3 separate regions of the Homo sapiens genome follow, and all the other regions are linked to region 2. Evidence: promoter capture Hi-C in human tissues and cell types (Jung and others, 2019). All regions are on one chromosome and are shown on one strand. Each heading gives the region's core, a stretch centred on a gene start or on the middle of the fragment in contact. The rest is flanking DNA. Distances are from core to core; before and after follow the strand shown.

Region 1 (2,736 bases), core at 79-2,578, 74 kb before region 2:
CCTCCCTTCCTTATTTGATGCTATGGGGTCCCTTCTCTGCCTCTTCCTGTCTTCCCTACGTATCTGGGCAAACAAAATGTATTGAGATAGACAGGTCCCAATTTTATAAGTAACTTGGATCCATCTGTCTTGTGTAGGTCACTTCATTTGTGTGATGGGTGTTGTGTTTAGCATACTATCAAATTGGCTTATAAATAAAAGAGAATTCATAAATTAAAAAATAAGACTAGTCTAAATTTATTAGTTTGAAGGGAATGTTATGTCTTCTAAAATTTAACTTTAAGATTTTTACCTAGATGAACCTCTGATGTTTGTAGCCTTTAGAATGGTTAGGATGGCTTTTAAACAGTGAGCTTATGTATAGTTGAAAATCTTAAAGCTGTGAAATAGTTCTCATCTATAGAGTGCCAATGTCTGATGAGCAGTTCAGAATTTCTTGCTCTTTAGATTTATATAAAATAAGCCAAAGAAAGTGTGTTTTTTATTGGGAAAAATAATAATTTTTGTCTAATTTGGAAGTTATTAAAAGAGAGGTTCAAAATATGAAGGAACCAGTAAGTAGAAAAGAGAGATATGAAGAAAGTTATGGATAGATGTACTTTTTGCAAGGAAGAATACAAAGAAGGATACAAGGAAGGATATAAAGAAGGATACAAGGAAGAATACAAAGTTATTTTATATGAGGAGGGATCTTGTGTAGTAAATTCTTATCCTAGAGTAAAATGATGAGTTCTTTAAGGAAGGGGTCCTATAGGACAAGTCAGAAAGTCCAAGCATGTTGTAGATGGTCCATGTGGGTCATGATGGGGTTTGTGAAGGGGAATTTTGTGTATGATTAAGCTTAAGCTGACTATGACTAAAGGAAAACTGTGGTAGACTTTCTAGAGAATGGTCTATATATTGGCAACAGGTTTTCTTAAGGTATTGATTTGCTAAATTACAGGAAGTTTTGCTTTTAATAATCTACCTGGTTTATTTTAAAATGTCTTGGATTCATGTCTCAGAGATTCAACTGTTGTTGTGTCTCACTACTTTCAATTCTTTCTCCCTTTAAGAAGGCCTGGGATGATGGCTCTTTCCATCAACCTTTTCATCAACATTGTGACTTTTTTTCCTCTGGTTCTGACTATTGGGCCCTGGTACTAAAATGTTTTGTCTTAGAGGTCTGCGAAAACAGTGTTTTCCCCGAATATAGCTTGATTCTATGCTGTTTTTTTTTTTTTTTTACATATAACCTTATTATTGGCATTTAGTTTTTGACTCTTATATTGCTTTAAAAGATTTTAAGGGCAAATGAGTGCCTGCTCACCTCCATTTCCTTCTGACCTAGGATGTTTAATTGGCTATAAGTCTTTTGACTCTAAGTCCCTTAGCCAAAGGGAATTCCAAAGAAGCCTTCAAAAAAAAAGAAGTCAGACCATGACAGGAAACAGGGGGCCAAACATGCCTCACTGTGCCACCCCTTAGAATTTAGGCTAGGCACAAAGGCCCTTCAAAAATTATAATAACAAAGTACTTCCCTTTCCCACATAGGAAAGAAATAGCTCCTCTGTTCAACCTGAACACCTAGTCTTACAAAAAACTTTTTGTTAAAAAGGATCCCCAGAGGATCAATTACAACCCAAATGGAAGAGCCCCTATCAGGTATTGTTAAGTACCTTCCCTGCTGTTAAACTTCAGGGAATCACTAGTTGGGTACACCTGTCCAAGATTAAATCTGTTTCTTATGAATCCCTGACGGCATAAGAGGAGGACACCATGATTTACACCTGTGAGCTCCTATAAGACTTAAAGCTGTTGTTTCACAAACACAAAGATAAAAAACATGATGCCATGGGCATAGATGCATTAATTTTCTCATCCTCCAAATTATAATTTTCCTGTTGACCTCCTACTTAAGTTTATGTCTTCTAGATTCCACATAAAGATGATGCTGGCACAAGGTTTCAACCCATCCCATCTTATGACCTGAAAAATGAAAATATCCTGTTGGACCCCTTAGATCAGGTATCCAGAGATTACCAGAGGCTAGGGGCATGGGAGAGTGGGAAATGGGAAGATATTGCTCAAAAGGTACAAAGTTTCAGTTAGACAGGTATATTAGAGTTCTCTAAAGGGACAGAACTAATAGGATAGATGTATATATGAAGGGGAGTTTATTGAGGAGTAATGATTCACATGATCACAAGGTGAAGTCCCACAATAGGCTGTCTGCAAGCTGAGGATCAGGGAAGCCAGTCCAAGACCCAAAACCTCAAAAGTAGGGAAGCCAACAGTGCAGCCTTCAGTCTGTGAACAAAGGCCCGAGAGCTGCAAACCACTGGTGTAAGTCCAAGAGTCCAAAAGCTGAAGAACTTGGAGTCTGATGTTCGAGGGCAGGAAACATCCAGCAAGGGAGAAAGATGAAAGCCGGAAGGCTCAGCAAGTCAAGTCCTTCCATGTTCTTCTGCCTGTTTTAATCTAGCTGTGCTGGCAGCTGATTAGATGGTGCCACGCCAGACTAAGGGTGGGTCTGCTTCTCCCAGTCCACTGACTCAAATGTTAATCTCCTTTGGCAACACCCTCACAGACACACCCAGGAACAATACTTTGCATTCTACAACATTTTTATATTACTGTATTGTATTAGAGATGGGGTCTTACTCTGCCACCCAGGCTGGAGTGTAGTGGCACAATCATGGCTCACTGTAGTCTTGAACTCCTGGGCTCAAGTGATCCTCCTGCATCAGCCTCTCC
Region 2 (2,700 bases), core at 1-2,500:
GTCACCTGAAGTCGGCCTCCCCCGCCCCCTGCCAAAAGTAAACACTTTTCTAATCAGGGCCAGCCACTGGAGAAACTGAAATGAGTGGGCGGGGTGCTAACTCTATTTTCACTTTTCTCTTCCTGTTTCTTCAGAGCCTGGGAAACAAGTCAGAATTTCCAATCTTTTCCAATTCCCACATGATTTCCTAATTTAAGACGAATTCAGAGAAAATAAAAAAGTCTTTCTCCATCTGGAGAAGACTCCGCCCCCTGCAGTGGAGCATCCTCCTTTGGGGATGAGGCCTGGGGTGGGGGTGCGTCAGCCCCAGCCTCCACACGGACGCGCCTTGGGCTTGGTCTTGGGGGAGCTACCTGCACTGTGGGGTCACATGACAGAATTAGTGGTCAGCCCTAGCTGGAGGTCCAGGGCAAACACAGGCGGGGGCAGGGGGGTGGGGGGTCGTGAGCCTGCTGATTCAAGTGTCCCTGTGGGTCCCGCACCTTCTGAGACACAAGCGCCAGGCTTCAGAGACGAGGCTCCGGGATTTACCCCTGGGGGCCTCCTGCTCCCACAGCCGATGAGAGCCGGCAGTTTGGCTGTATCGTAAGCTGGCGCTTTAGCTGGAGAGGGACGAGCCCTCGGCCAGCTCGCCAGCGGGAGGGCCTCAGTCGTCCCATCCGGGCTGTAGGCTCCGCAAAGCTCTTGATGCACTGTCAGGCTGGGAGGTCCGGCCGCTCCCATTCCCCCACAGCCGCATCTAGATTGGGGTGGGTAGGACATTTTAACGTGCTTCTGAGACAGCCACCACCGAAAGGCACCTTTAGCGGTTAGGAAACCCGCGCGGAGTTCAACCACCCGGCCTCTGCGGAGCAGAAGGCCCGGTCGGGCTTTTCCCTGCGCGGGGCGGGCGGCCGCAGCCCAGTAGCCCTGGCTTTGCTCCAGACCCGGCCCAGAGTGACATCACCAAACTCCGCCGATCGGCGGGAGGGGGCCCTGAAATCCCCTAAAAACAAAGTGAGTAATCGGCGGACCCACCCTCCAGGCGGGGCCGGGACCCGGGAGCTAGCCGAGCCACCGGGCACGCCAGCCTCTTCGTCCTCGGCGAGGCGCGCACTTGGCCCCGACCCCCGGCAGCGGCTGTGCGTGCAGCCTCTTCGTCCTCCGCGCGGCGTGCACTTGCTCCCGGCCCCTGCGCCGGGCGGCGGCGGGGCAGCGCGCAGGCGCGGCCGGATTCCGGGCAGTGACGCGACGGCGGGCCGCGCGGCGCATTTCCGCCTCTGGCGAATGGCTCGTCTGTAGTGCACGCCGCGGGCCCAGCTGCGACCCCGGCCCCGCCCCCGGGACCCCGGCCATGGACGGTGAGGTCGCCCTCTGACCCCGCGGGGTGGCATCGCCGGGGCCGCCGCGGCTGTGGCGGGAGCCCCCGCGCCGCTTTCCGCCCCTTCCTGCGCCGACGGGCGCTGCGCAGGGAGCGGTCGGCCTGCCGGATGGTGGCGCGGGGCGGGGCAGGCGGGGAGGGGTCTGACTCAGTTTCCCCTCTGGGTGGAGGGGGTGGCCCTTGACTCAGCATCCTCCCTGGGTGGGGGAGCAGAGGGAACCTTGACTCAGTTTCCCTCCACACCGTCCATGGGGGCAGCTCTGGCTTCGTTTCCCTATTAGGGGAGAACGCATCTGATTCAGTTTCCTCTCTGGAGGGAGGTGGGGCGTGCCCTCCCTCAATTTTCCTTAAGAAAGTACAACAGGCCCTGATTCAGCTTCCCTCTGGAGAAGAAGGATTCCTTACCCCGTTTTCCCTCAAGAAGCAGGTGTTTCTGGTTCCTTTCCTCCACCCCTTAGTTTCACCGCAGGTTCTAGGGAGCAGGTCCTGACTCAGTTCCCCTGGGAGGGAGCCTGGCTTCTCCTCTCCGTGGAGAGCAGATTCCTCCTTGTGAGAATGGGCATTGGGTGTGTGCTGACCCTGATCTCCCTCCCCTTTCAGAACTGTTCCCCCTCATCTTCCCGGCAGGTAAGTGGCCCCCGCGGCGGTCGGGGAGGTGCTCCCTGGGGTAGGGCAGTGGGGGCAGCCGCCTAATGGGGCTGCGGTGTCCCCTGGCAGAGCCAGCCCAGGCCTCTGGCCCCTATGTGGAGATCATTGAGCAGCCCAAGCAGCGGGGCATGCGCTTCCGCTACAAGTGCGAGGGGCGCTCCGCGGGCAGCATCCCAGGCGAGAGGAGCACAGATACCACCAAGACCCACCCCACCATCAAGGTCAGCACTGCGCCAGGGTGTGCGGGGAAGGGACTGTGGAACCCCAGCCCTCTGTGTTTGGGAGTCAGGTTTGGATGTCTGGGCCTCTGTACTTTGGACAGATCAATGGCTACACAGGACCAGGGACAGTGCGCATCTCCCTGGTCACCAAGGACCCTCCTCACCGGCCTCACCCCCACGAGCTTGTAGGAAAGGACTGCCGGGATGGCTTCTATGAGGCTGAGCTCTGCCCGGACCGCTGCATCCACAGGTGAGGTCCCTGCAGGCTAGGAGGCCCAGCATGAGGGGACAGGAGGCGGGCTATGAAGTAGCCGCTACAGTGTTACTCCTTTCTGGACCCAGGGCAGAATTCCTCACTCCTTGCCCTGACTCAGCTCTGCAAGTAAACTGCCTTTGTCTTGAAATTATCTATTTGTACGTTTACTCTAGCAGATGAGTTCCAGGGGATACGGATGGGTCCCTAATCACTTC
Region 3 (2,852 bases), core at 77-2,576, 120 kb before region 2:
GCCTCACCCCACAGCCTCTTGGGTGGGAGTTATCACTCCCATTTTATAGATGGGGAAACTGAGGCACCTAGAGGGAAGTAGTTTGGGGCTGCTGCCTGTGAGTCAACTGTGGAGCCAGGGCCTAGAGGAGCCGGGACCGGGCCTTCTGGCTGGACCTGTCCCTCCGAGTGGGTCTCTATCTCTCCATCCCCAAGGGCACCCAGACAGCCTCCTTTTTGGCACTCTCCACCCCTCAACTCTCCACCACCTCCCATCTGGAGCAGGATGGGGTAGGGAGAGGCCAGCTGGCACTGGCTTGCATGGGGGCTCAGGCCTGTTTCATCTTCAAAGCGGCTAATTGGAGCCAGAGGGGTGGTGAGGTTTGGGCGCCGGCGGTTCTGTGCCCTGGAAACCGGTGGTCTGTGGGGCACCTGCAACCTGGGCCTCTGGCCTGGGAGAGACCGCCGCCCAGACCCCCGAATGCCCCCAAACAGCCAGAATCCAGCCCACTGAAGTCTGGAGTGCTGGGTTCCGGCCCGGCTTGGCCCCAGATCTCGGTTGGCAAGGCCGCCCTCCTCCTGGGCCTGTTTTCCCCATCGCTAGGCATGCCTCGAGCCCCGTGACCGGCCAGGCCCTGACAGCCCGCACTTCCCGAGTATGGATCCCGTTGTTTTCGACTTAGGGCCCTGCCCCGCCCTCGCCGTCACGACCCCTGCGGGCCGCCAGCGCGGCCTCGGGCAAACAAAGGTCAGAAGCTCCTGGCTGGCCGCAACCGCGGCGCCGGCTCCTCGCCCCCAAGCCGAGCGGGCTGGGGGCCCGGGCAGGCGTCAGGGAAGCGAAGCCAAGCCCTGCGGCGCCCGCCGGACCGGTTCAGCTGGGGCGCTTTTCCTGCGGGCGCCCTGCGACCGCACCTTGGTCACCCCCAGGGGCCACTCCGGGAGCCCCAGGACCCGCACCCACGCCCCCCGGGGCCGCGCGTCTGGCGCAGGGTGCGGTGTGCCCGGGCGCCGGCGGGGGGCGCGCTGGCTGCCGCCCTGCGCGGCTTGGCGGGCGCTGGTGGGACCGGGCCGCTGTCCGCCGAGGGCCGCGGGATCGCAGCCCTGCGCCGCGGTACCCGGCATCTGGGGCCCAGGCCCACCCCGCTCCGCCACCCCTACCCACTCCCCTCCGCCTTTCCTGCCCCGGCCTGCGGCGGTTTCGGGGAAGGGGGCCTGCGCGGCGGGACAGTTAGTCAGCCCCCGCGAAACCTGCGAGTCGACACCTGCGGGAGGCGGTGGCCCCGTTACGCCCCGCCCCTCCCCGCCCGGACTCGGCCGCCCCCGCGCCGCGCCCCGCCCCGCGCCGCCAGCCCGGAAGGAGCCGGCCGGCCTGAGTGCCCGCGGCGGCTGAGTCAGGCGGCGAGCGCGGCCCGTTACCGCCGGCGCCGGGGGCCGGGGTGGCGCTGTGGTTTCGGTGCGGGCCGCGGGCGGGAGGGAGGCGGCCTAACGAGCTCTCGGCACGCACCCTCCCCCGCCCTGCTCCTGTCCTGTCCCGCGAGGGCCCCGGCGCCCAGCTCTGGCGTCGGCCCCGAGAGCCCTGGTCTCACCGTGGGAGCCGGGCGCGGGTCCCGCCGGCATCTGCGCGGCGTCTGGGGGTGACCGCAGCCCCTCGGGGTCGGCAGCGGGCCCCGCGCTCCCGGTGGCTGCGGCCTGAGGGTCCCTCTTCCCTGCGCAGGGGCCCGCGCGCCTCACCATGGGGCCCCTGAGCCGGGACGCCTGGGCCCAGCGCTTGGGGGCCTTCCGGGCCAGCCCGTCTGCCTTCATGGCAGGTCCCGAGGGGGAGGATTTGGGTCGCGACCTGCTGAGCGACCTGAGAAGTGAGAAGCTGAGCGAACAGACCAAGGTAGGCCCCCACGCGTCCCCTGCGCCGTTCCGCAGGGTCACCCCAGCCCGCCGCGTCATGAACCTCATCTTCGTGATTCCCTCCTAATCCCCCATCCAGGTTTCCCTGCTGGCCCTGAGCATGGAGTACCCTGCGCAGCTGTGGCCCGACGCCTCTGCGGCCGAAGTGGCCGCCACCTCCCTGTTGGACACCTTGGTCCTCCTACCCCCGCGGCCCTCAGCTCTCCGTCGGCCACTGCTGCTGGCGGCCACCACTGCCCTGGCGGCGGGCGGCGCGCTGGGCCCCACCTCGGGCGCCTCCTGCCGGCTCCTGCCCCTACTGCTCGGCCTGGCCGCGGGTAGCGATCTGGGGCGAGGCTTTGTCCCCGCCTCGGAACAGCGCCCCTTGCAGGCCACGGCCTGCGAGTGCCTGCGAGAGCTAGAGAGCTGCAAGCCCGGGCTGCTGGGGGGCTCCCTGGGGTTGCTGCGGGGCCTGCTGGGGCAGGAAGGCCCTGTCCAGCCACTCAGCCTGTTGCTGGCCCTCGCTTTGCGCAACACCTTGGTGCTCCAGTCCCGGGTTGGGGCTGGCCTGGGGGGACTGCTCACGGATAAGGTCTCCCCAACTGGGGGTGGTCCCTGGGATTGGACACTAGTGGAGGAGGGCGATGGACGCCTTCAGCCCCAGGCACCCAGCTGGCCGGCAGCTGAGGAGGGAGAGGGGGAGCGTAGCCTTACAGCACGAGAGCACAGCCCTGAGGAGGCGCGGGAGCTGCGGGCTGCGGTGATCCAGCTTCTGGACACCTCCTATCTGCTCACTCCTGTGGCCCAGGCCCAGCTCCTGTGGCTGCTGGGCTGGGCCCTGCGGGGTCTGCAGGGACAGCCACCGGCACTCTTCAAGCCGCAGCTGGTACGGCTGCTAGGCACAGCACAGCTGACACTGTTGCACGCCATGCTTGCGCTCAAGGCGGCCTTTGGTGAGGCCTTGTTCACAGCCCAGGATGAAGCGTTGCTGCT

The links. The method cuts DNA at HindIII sites, captures the fragments that hold promoters and counts their contacts. A contact is called where the count stands out against the background at its distance.
Region 1: a contact is called between a fragment that was not itself captured here and the fragment with the promoter of RELA in region 2, in 3 of the 25 tissues and cell types used here (aorta, lymphoblastoid cells and mesenchymal stem cells).
Region 3: the fragment with the promoter of AP5B1 here is called in contact with the fragment with the promoter of RELA in region 2 in 4 of the 25 tissues and cell types used here (dorsolateral prefrontal cortex, heart right ventricle, lymphoblastoid cells and 1 more).

Annotation. Positions count from the first base shown.
Region 1 is chr11:65,735,073-65,737,808 of GRCh38, reverse strand. No RefSeq gene overlaps it. Among named protein-coding and RNA genes, the nearest start is that of RNASEH2C, 16 kb to the right of the region's middle. The HindIII fragment of the contact is 9,114 bases long and covers 1-2,736 here.
Region 2 is chr11:65,661,466-65,664,165 of GRCh38, reverse strand. It overlaps RELA (RELA proto-oncogene, NF-kB subunit), which reads left to right and starts at 1,250. Exons shown (of 11, transcript NM_021975.4): 1 at 1,250-1,340; 2 at 1,961-1,987; 3 at 2,078-2,229; 4 at 2,331-2,479. The coding sequence starts at 1,334. RELA-DT (RELA divergent transcript) reads right to left here and starts at 1,160. Exons shown (of 4, transcript NR_183625.1): 1 at 1,018-1,160. RefSeq lists an enhancer at 744-943 and silencers at 1,034-1,443, 1,504-1,563. The HindIII fragment of the contact is 29,460 bases long and covers 1-2,700 here.
Region 3 is chr11:65,779,450-65,782,301 of GRCh38, reverse strand. AP5B1 (adaptor related protein complex 5 subunit beta 1) reads left to right here and starts at 1,326. Exons shown (of 2, transcript NM_138368.5): 1 at 1,326-1,860; 2 at 1,960-2,852. The coding sequence starts at 1,711. RefSeq lists enhancers at 1-612, 1,342-2,244 and silencers at 873-1,612, 1,653-1,832, 1,983-2,252. The HindIII fragment of the contact is 21,769 bases long and covers 1-2,852 here.